Linked DNA regions of Homo sapiens: region 1 is linked to region 2. Evidence: promoter capture Hi-C in 16 types of primary human blood cells and fetal thymus (Javierre and others, 2016). All regions are on one chromosome and are shown on one strand. The core of a region is centred on a gene start or on the middle of the fragment in contact, and the rest is flanking DNA. Distances in the headings are between cores, read along the strand shown.

Region 1 (4,521 bases), core at 1,119-3,618, 1.2 Mb after region 2:
GAAAAATTTCTCTTCTTTTCCCAGCTTGTTGTGTGCTTTTATCATGAAAGCATGTTGAAATTTGTCCAATGCTTTTTCTGCATCTATTAAAATTATCATATAGTTTTTGTCCTGTATTCAATGGTACATTAGATTAATTGATTTGGGGATGTTAAACCAACTTTGTATTTTTGAAATAAATATCATTTATTTGTGGTGTATAATTTTTTTTTCATATGCTACTGAATTTGGTTTGCTAGTACTTTTCTGAGTATTTTGTGTTTATTAATAAGGGATATTGGCCTGAAGTTTTATTTTCTTTTTTCTTTCCTTTTTTTTTTTTTTTTTTGTGAGACGGAATCTTGCTCTGTCACCCAGGCTAGAGTGCAATGGCCCAATCTTGGCTCACTGCAACCTCTGCCTCCTGAGTTTGAGTGATTCTCCTGTCTCAGCCTCCAGAGTAGCTGAGATTACAGGCACACACCACAAGGCCTGGCTAATTTTTGTATTTTTAGTAGAGAGAAGGTTTTGTCATGTTGGCCAGGCTGTCTCAAACCCTTGACCTCAGGTGATCCTCCTGCCTCAGCTTCCCAAAGTGCTGGGATTACAGGCATGAGCCACCAGGCCCAGCCGAAGTTTTCTTTTCTTGTTGATTTCTTTGTCTGGTTGGAATCAGAGTCCACACCTGGCTGAAGTTTTTGTTTCTTGTTGATTTCTTTGTCTGGTTGGAATCAGAGTAATACTTGCCTTATAGAATTAGTTGTTAATTGTTTCCTCCTCTTCTATATTTTGGAATAGTTTCTTAAGTGTTATTCTTTAATTGTTCAGTGGAATTTACCAGCGAAGCCATCTGGACCTGTGCTTTTCCTTCTGGATAGGTTTTTTTTTTTTTCTTGCTAATTCAATTTCTTTAATTATGTTAGATCTAGTCAGATTTTTCTTTATGCCTTCTTGAGTTGATTTAGGTAGTTTGTGTTTTTCTAGGAATCTGGCCATTTTATCTACTTTATCTTTTTTAAGCATAGTTGTTCATAGTATTCCTTCTTATTCCTGTTTATTTCAGCAAGGCTATTAGTGATGGTTCTTTTATTCTTGCTTGTATTAAATCTTCTCTCTTTTTTTTCTTAGTTTCACTAAAGGTTTGCCAATTTTGTTGATCCTTTTAGGGAACCAATTCCTGGTTTCATTGATTTTCTTTATTGATATTCTGTCTCCTTCTTTTCTAATCTTTAATATTTCCTTTCTTCTGTTTGCTTTTGGTTTAGCTTTCATTTTTTCTAGTCTCATGCCTCTAATGAAAGGCCTCATCTCTTCCAACTCATTCTCTTCAACTGTTGCCTAAGTTGTTTGTATATCTGAAACATAAATTTGATGGTGTCACTTAGAAGCTTAAAAGTCTTCTCATTGTTCCCATTCCTTAAAAAGTAAAATTCAAATTTTGTATAATGGCAAACAACACCTTTCATAATCTTAACCAGTTTACCTTAACAATCAAACCCACCTTTCCAATCACATAAAATCACCTGGAATTTATATATACATTTTTAACCTCTTTTCCTTTGTACTTGTGTTTTCTCAATTTGTTCTTTTCTCCTACTGACTTTTTAGAAAGTCACCCACGCTTTTTAGTTATTTCCTTTTCCCTGGTACCATCACACTTTGCATCAACTTCTTTTAGAACAGTTACCAAATTATTTATTAATACACGCCTTCTTCATTATTCTTTGAATTCCAGGATGTGAAATCCCATTTTAGAAATTATGTCCCAGTAACTGACACATAGTGAGTGGTCAGTGTTTGTGGAGGTAGGAAAAAGTGGTATGGTCTGATATCATTTCATCTGGAAATAAGATGATGTATTTCAGCCAGTGAAATCGAAAAGAGCGATGGAAAATGACCTCACACTCCATAGGGCTTTGGTTCGTAAGACACAGAGAATACTGATATCCTTGTGCGAAGAACTAACTTGCTGTTGAGAGATCAATTCAGAGGATGCTCAAGCTCCGTTATCACTTTCATTTTACTAAACTGAGAAAGGAAGGTTGAGGAATGCATCAACGGTTAAGCACAGTGCAGGTTCCTACAGCGACTGGAGTTTTTTGGTAGTTGGGAGTGTTTCCCTCAATCTTTGGGCAAGCCGTCAGCAGTGGCAGGAACAGGAACAGACAGCTGGGAAACCCTTTCTTTCCCCAATCGTCTTCTAGCTTAGCTTTAGGCTTGTATGCCCATCGCGCATGCGTCAATTTTTCTCTTTTAAGATGGGCGGGGCAGAGTCTTTGCTCCTTTGGCGATCCTGAAGGGGTGGAGCTAAGCTGTTTCCAGGGTGACAGAGTGGCGACCTCGGTGGTCGATTGAGCAGGTCTGAGAATTGTTCCCAAAGGGTTGTGCGTCACCGAGTCGTTGGCGCTGTCATGGCGGGTGTGCTGAAGAAGGTGAGACGAATGGAGGTCACTGTTGGAATTTAGACTGTGGGGGTAGACTCAGTCCGATAGCCCTACTTCCCGCGGGTGTTGACCCCTACTGTCGCGGGCTCGGCGGTGCTTTTCGGGGACTCGTTCTGCATGCCTTACCGGGTAGGGCAGGTTAGTGGTTCCGCTCCGAGAGTCAGGAAAAAAGCTCCAAACAAGCGAGACTGAGAGACCAGTAGCTGGCTTTAGACCAGTTTTAGCCGGGGGATTCGTGGTTTTGTATTTCCTTAGCGTGCTGGATGTATGGAAACCGTAGTAAACAGCATGAATCGTGTTTTGTTTTTGAACAGACCACTGGCCTTGTGGGATTGGCTGTGTGCAATACTCCTCACGAGGTATGTACCTTTGTTCTTTCTTCGTTCTTGAATTCCCAAGGAAGACTAAATTCCTGTCACTTTGCTTATTGCAGGGTTAACGGGATACAGATGTTTCAAGCCCTTAATTACAAGCCGCGTGAGCTCTTGAGACACGGGCGCTGTCCACCTACTTCGTTGATCCGATGTCACATTTTTATTTATTTTTGCCATGACCTCTTTATTAAGCCAGTTTTCTTGTTGACTTTTTCCTTGACATTTTCATGGCTTCACTTGTGCTTGCTTCTGTCAGCGCCATCTCAAATTTATATCTCCGTTTTCCATCTTTTCTCCTTGCCTTACCGTTTCTGCTTAGGTGCGTTGGATTACATATATTTAGGCTTACTAAAGGTACTGCCCCCTTTTCCTTCTGTTAGGTCTTTTCCATCTGTATTCACGAATGTTTTCATCAAAAAAACCCACAAAATTTTTTTATTCTTCTTGTCCCTTCTATAATCACACCATTTCTTTGCTTCACTTTACAGATAACTCAAAAGAGTTATCTCTATTTTCTCCAATTTCTTTCTTATTCACCCTTGAATGCACTCAGTCACCCTTGGCGTTTTTCAAGTTCACCAATTATCTCCATGCTGCCAAATCCAATGGTCAGCTCATATTTCTCACCTTCATTGACCTAATAGCAGCGTTTTTTGACACATTTGACACTTTTTCCATCACGCTCTTTTCAAGTTCACCAGTTATCTCCATGTTGCCAAATCCAATGGTCAGCTTATGTTTCTCACCTTCATTGACCTAATAGCAGCGTTTTTTTTTTTTTGACACATTTGACACTTTTTCCATCATGCGCTTTCTTTACTGGGCTTCAGGACTCCCCCAGTCTCCTGATTTTTTCCCCCTACTCTTTGGCTTTCTCTTTTTCTGGTTATTTCTCTTATGCCCACTTTTAAAATTTGAGTTAGTCAGGATTTAGTTCTTGGACCTTTTCTTTTGGACCTGTACTCTGTCACCAAGAGAGAGCAAATCCAAATAGAGAACGGTTTTAAATACCACCTATACACTGACAACAGATTTCCATGTAAAGCACTGACCTCTTCCTTTATAAAAGTCCTGAATATTTAATTGCTTAGTGGGCATCTCTATTTGTATGTGTCAGACAGGCAACCCAAACTTAACATGTCCAAAATGGGGTTCCTGATCTTCTGCCTAAAACCTGCTCTTCTCTCAGTCTTGCTCATCTCAATTAATGGCAGCTCAATTATTTTGACTCAGGTCAGAAACTTGAAATCATCTTTGATTCCTTCCTTTCTCTTACACTCCACATTTGTTATTTCAGTAAACCCTCTAGGTTCCACCTTCAAAATATATCTTGATTTTGACAACATCTCACTACCTCCTCTGCTACTACCCTCTTCCTCAGTCACCATCATCACTGATGTGGATAATTGCATTCACTTCTTAACTGCCTCTCAATGCTTGTCACAGCCTCCATTTGGTCTTTTTTTCCAGCCAGGCTACTAGAGTTAGTCTGTTAAAATATGAGGTAGGTCAGATCTCTCCTTTCCTTAAAACTAATGGCTTTCCATTTCACTCTAAATAAAGACAAGTTTCTTACTGTGACCCTCTGGTTCACTATTCTACTGATTTATTTTGTTATGTCTCTACTAGAATGTAGGTTTCATGAAGGCAGGGATTTGTAATTGTTTCACTGCTAGAACTCTGTCACATAGTATGTGCTCAGTAAATAGTGTTAGTTGAATGAG
Region 2 (4,468 bases), core at 957-3,456:
TTATGAGTATACAAGAAAATATAAATTCAGTGAGAGCAGAACTTTATTTTATTCACTGCTCTGACCTAAGTAACTTGAGCAGAATATTTCTTTAATGAAGTAGTGAATTTGAGAGAATGAGTTAGTGTATATAAATGAATGAATTAATGTACAAATGAATGTGTGCTATTAGCTTATATTTTTTCCTATTTCTGGCTTTGTCTGATTTTGACATTAAGGTTATTCTGCCTTCACAAAATGAACTGAGTAGCTTTAAAACATTTTGTATAAATGTATATTTATTCCGCAGGATATGCTAAGGTCTAGCACTTTCCTCTGGGTAGATCTTGATGAATGATTTGATTTCTTTAATGTTATAGTTCGATTACAGTTTCTGAAAATTTTCTTCTTGAACTATTTTTGGTAGTTTATGTTTTTCTATACAATTATTCCTGTTGTCTCCATTTTTAGATTTAATGGTGTATTAGTTTACTATTGCTACTGCAACAAATAACCATAAATTTTGTGGCTTAAAACAACACACATTCATTATCTTACAGTTATGGAGGTCAGAAGTCTCAAATGGGCTAGTAGATCCTTTTTTATGCCCATTCTAGCTTCCAGAGATTGCCCACATCACTTGGCTTGTGTTTGTTTTTACTCTGACCCTCCTGCCTCTCATTTGTAAGGGCTCTTGTGATTATAGTGTACCCACCTGGATAATCACGATACTCTCCCCATCTCAAGAGTCTTAGCTGAATTGCATTGGCAAAATCCCTTTTGCTCTGTAAGGTAACATACTCACAGGTATTAGGAATTAGGATTCGGACATTTTTTTGGGGGGGCATTATTCTATTTACCACAATTGGTATCATATGTTCCATTGTGTTTTCTCCTGCCTCTCTAGATGTGTTGCTTTAAAAAAATTCAGGCCGGGTGTGATGGCTCACGCCTGTAATGCCAGCGCTTTGGGAGGCCGAGGCGGGCGGATCACGAGGTCAGGAGCTCAAGACCAGCCTGGCCAACATAGTGAAACCCCGTCTCTGCTAAAAATACAAAAAAAATTAGCCGGGCATGGTGGCGGGTGCCTGTAGTCTCAGCTACTTGGGAGGCTGAGGCAGGAGAATCGCTTGAACCCGGGGAGGCGGAGGTTGCAGTGAGTCGAGATCGCACCACTGCACTCCAGCCTGGGCGACACAGCAAGACTCTGTTTAAAAAAAAAATTCAGAATGTGTTTATTTCTTCCTCTATCATTTTCTCTTCATTAATTTGTCTATTTTATTAGCTATGCCCTGACAGTTTTGACAGGGTTGTGGGATATAGTAGAAAGGTTGGAAAGGCATGGACAGCCGTGCTGGGAGTGCTGTTCGAGTAATTTTCTGCCTCCAGTCATTTCCCACTACTTCATCAAATACAACTACCTCACTATGCTCTGGGTGGTACGAAGTAACCCATGGTAGGATGCTTCCCAACTCAGTGTTAAAGGTAATGGTGCATCCTGAGCTTTCTCGCTCTGCATCTCAATCCTGGAACTGGTAATTCTCTATGACTGACACCTCTGAGCTCCCATTCTCTCCTATCTCTAGGGAATACCTGAGGAGGTGAGGTTTCACCTTCTTACTCCCCGCGGCCCAACCCCCGTCCGCCCCTCCCCCGCCCCGCCCCTCGCCCCCCAGAGCTGAGACCTGGGCATGCGCATCAGCCGCAACAGATTGGAGGGGACCCTGCTGCTCACTCCCCTGCTACCCTCCTCTCTTCCCTCCCCCGACCGCTCTCATATTCCCGTTCCCACCCCCACCCCCCACTCCCGCCCCGCACCCGCCCCTAGCCCGGGCTCGGGGACCTGTCAGGCTGGTTTCGACAGCTGGGGAATTAACCTGTCCCGCCCATCCCTAGCCTCGAGCCGCGCAGGCTCCGCGCCTCCGCCCTTGTTCCCTCCCAGCTCCTCCGAGTGGAAGCCGCTACAAATGGCTTGAATGAAACGTGTGTGGGTTTAGTGAGTGGTGAACCACCAGGGGATCCCGTCTCCCCACAAACCAGTATCTCTCCGAGGAGGAGGCGAAGGAGTGGGAGGAGGCAACGAGCCGAGAGTCGAGCTTCGCGGGCGCGCGCAGCGGCTGGAGCGCGGGGGCGAGGCCGGGCCACCTCCCCTTCCCGGCCGCGCACTGCCTGGCCCGCGGCGGTTCCAGGCACCACCCTTCCCGTCCGGGCTGAGCCCGCTGTGGCAGTGACTAGCTCCCGCGGCTAGCGGCACTGTCCACCGACGAGCGGCGCCCTCTTCTCCCCCTTCTCCCCACGATTTCCTTCTCTGCGGCGGCACGCCGTCCAGCAGCCTGCTTCGCCCCGTCGTCAACTTTGAGCTGGAGGAGAAGCAACTTTGGCAGTGGCCGCGGGGTTGGAATCCCGCTTCTCCTCGGCAGCAGTAGGCTCGCAAGTCGCTGGGGTTAGGTGGGGCAAGAGTTTCGCCGGCGCATCAGCGCTGCTTCGGACTGTTTGCAACGTGTTTCCAGCGAGCTGGGAGCGGGGTTGTGACTGCGAGTCGTCTGGGGGAGGGGGACTTGTTTTTCTTTTCCTCTAGAGACCTCGGCTTGCAACTGGATCAAACGCTGTCGAAAGGATGTAAATAGGCAGAGCAACTGTTACCAAGAAGGCCACCACCCCCACCCAAAGGCAGTGAGGAGTGTGGGGCTTCGTCTGGGCTCCCCCGAGTCTCAACAGTAATCAACAGTCAGGTGTTGATTGCAACTTTTCAAGGTCAGCCACCGGGAGTAGCCTATTCCCTCTAGGAACCTTGGAGGGCATACCTTGCTGGGACTCAACTTGGCTGAGAAATGCACAAGATGCCAAAGGAGGAAGGATTATAGGGGGCGTGTGTGTGACCCCCAAGACCGATCTTCCGCTATCACCCTAATCTCCGGTTCCCCGCTACCCGGGCGGGGGTGAGTATGTGACATGTGCCTAACTCTCAGCAGCAACTTCGGCAGCAGGTGTCGATCCTAACTAAGCAGGAGCTGCGGCTGCCGGGTGTGCCCTCACCAAGCCATGCGAGCCCCGGGCGCGCTTCTCGCCCGCATGTCGCGGCTACTGCTTCTGCTACTGCTCAAGGTGTCTGCCTCTTCTGCCCTCGGGGTCGCCCCTGCGTCCAGAAACGAAACTTGTCTGGGGGAGAGCTGTGCACCTACAGTGATCCAGCGCCGCGGCAGGGACGCCTGGGGACCGGGAAATTCTGCAAGAGACGTTCTGCGAGCCCGAGCACCCAGGGAGGAGCAGGGGGCAGCGTTTCTTGCGGGACCCTCCTGGGACCTGCCGGCGGCCCCGGGCCGTGACCCGGCTGCAGGCAGAGGGGCGGAGGCGTCGGCAGCCGGACCCCCGGGACCTCCAACCAGGCCACCTGGCCCCTGGAGGTGGAAAGGTGCTCGGGGTCAGGAGCCTTCTGAAACTTTGGGGAGAGGGAACCCCACGGCCCTCCAGCTCTTCCTTCAGATCTCAGAGGAGGAAGAGAAGGGTCCCAGAGGCGCTGGCATTTCCGGGCGTAGCCAGGAGCAGAGTGTGAAGACAGTCCCCGGAGCCAGCGATCTTTTTTACTGGCCAAGGAGAGCCGGGAAACTCCAGGGTTCCCACCACAAGCCCCTGTCCAAGACGGCCAATGGACTGGCGGGGCACGAAGGGTGGACAATTGCACTCCCGGGCCGGGCGCTGGCCCAGAATGGATCCTTGGGTGAAGGAATCCATGAGCCTGGGGGTCCCCGCCGGGGAAACAGCACGAACCGGCGTGTGAGACTGAAGAACCCCTTCTACCCGCTGACCCAGGAGTCCTATGGAGCCTACGCGGTCATGTGTCTGTCCGTGGTGATCTTCGGGACCGGCATCATTGGCAACCTGGCGGTGATGTGCATCGTGTGCCACAACTACTACATGCGGAGCATCTCCAACTCCCTCTTGGCCAACCTGGCCTTCTGGGACTTTCTCATCATCTTCTTCTGCCTTCCGCTGGTCATCTTCCACGAGCTGACCAAGAAGTGGCTGCTGGAGGACTTCTCCTGCAAGATCGTGCCCTATATAGAGGTAATGCCTTCCAGGGGCTCTCAAGCTAGTGGCTTTATCTGTTTTCGGGATTATAGCATCAGAGAACTGCTGCTGGATGCACCTATCTAGCTGAACGCCTTTCCTTTTTATCTGGGGCCCTCTTTCATTTCTCTTTCCAATCATTTATGCATGTATGTATATACAAAAAGAGGCAGCTTCGCGAAATCACCTTCAAATTCATCTGCTCCTGGGCTGTAAAAAAAGGATGATCTCACAATATACAGAATTGTTTGGAGTATAAATCTATCTCCCTGAATATGGTGTTATGCGTATTTCTGATTTGGCACTTGTCAGAGATTTTAGGGTTAAGTAAATGGCCAGCCTAAGGTTGTCATCATCAGAGCCTACAAGGAAAAAAAAAAAAACATTAGCATTTGTGTACTAGTTACCAAGTGCTTCAATG

Evidence for each region. The method cuts DNA at HindIII sites, captures the fragments that hold promoters and counts their contacts. A CHiCAGO score of 5 or more calls a contact.
Region 1: the fragment with the promoter of NDUFA5 here is called in contact with the fragment with the promoter of GPR37 in region 2 in 7 of 17 cell types (M2 macrophages, M0 macrophages, M1 macrophages and 4 more); the score reaches 15.0 in M2 macrophages.

The regions. Positions count from the first base shown.
Region 1 is chr7:123,555,665-123,560,185 of GRCh38, reverse strand. NDUFA5 (NADH:ubiquinone oxidoreductase subunit A5) reads left to right here and starts at 2,368. Exons shown (of 5, transcript NM_005000.5): 1 at 2,368-2,411; 2 at 2,738-2,782. The coding sequence starts at 2,391. RefSeq lists enhancers at 1,891-2,030, 2,291-2,340, 2,081-2,659, 1,896-3,095, 2,660-3,238. The HindIII fragment of the contact is 10,047 bases long and covers 1,370-4,521 here.
Region 2 is chr7:124,763,530-124,767,997 of GRCh38, reverse strand. GPR37 (G protein-coupled receptor 37) reads left to right here and starts at 2,206. Exons shown (of 2, transcript NM_005302.5): 1 at 2,206-4,044. The coding sequence starts at 3,022. RefSeq lists a silencer at 2,065-2,194. The HindIII fragment of the contact is 5,609 bases long and covers 1-4,468 here.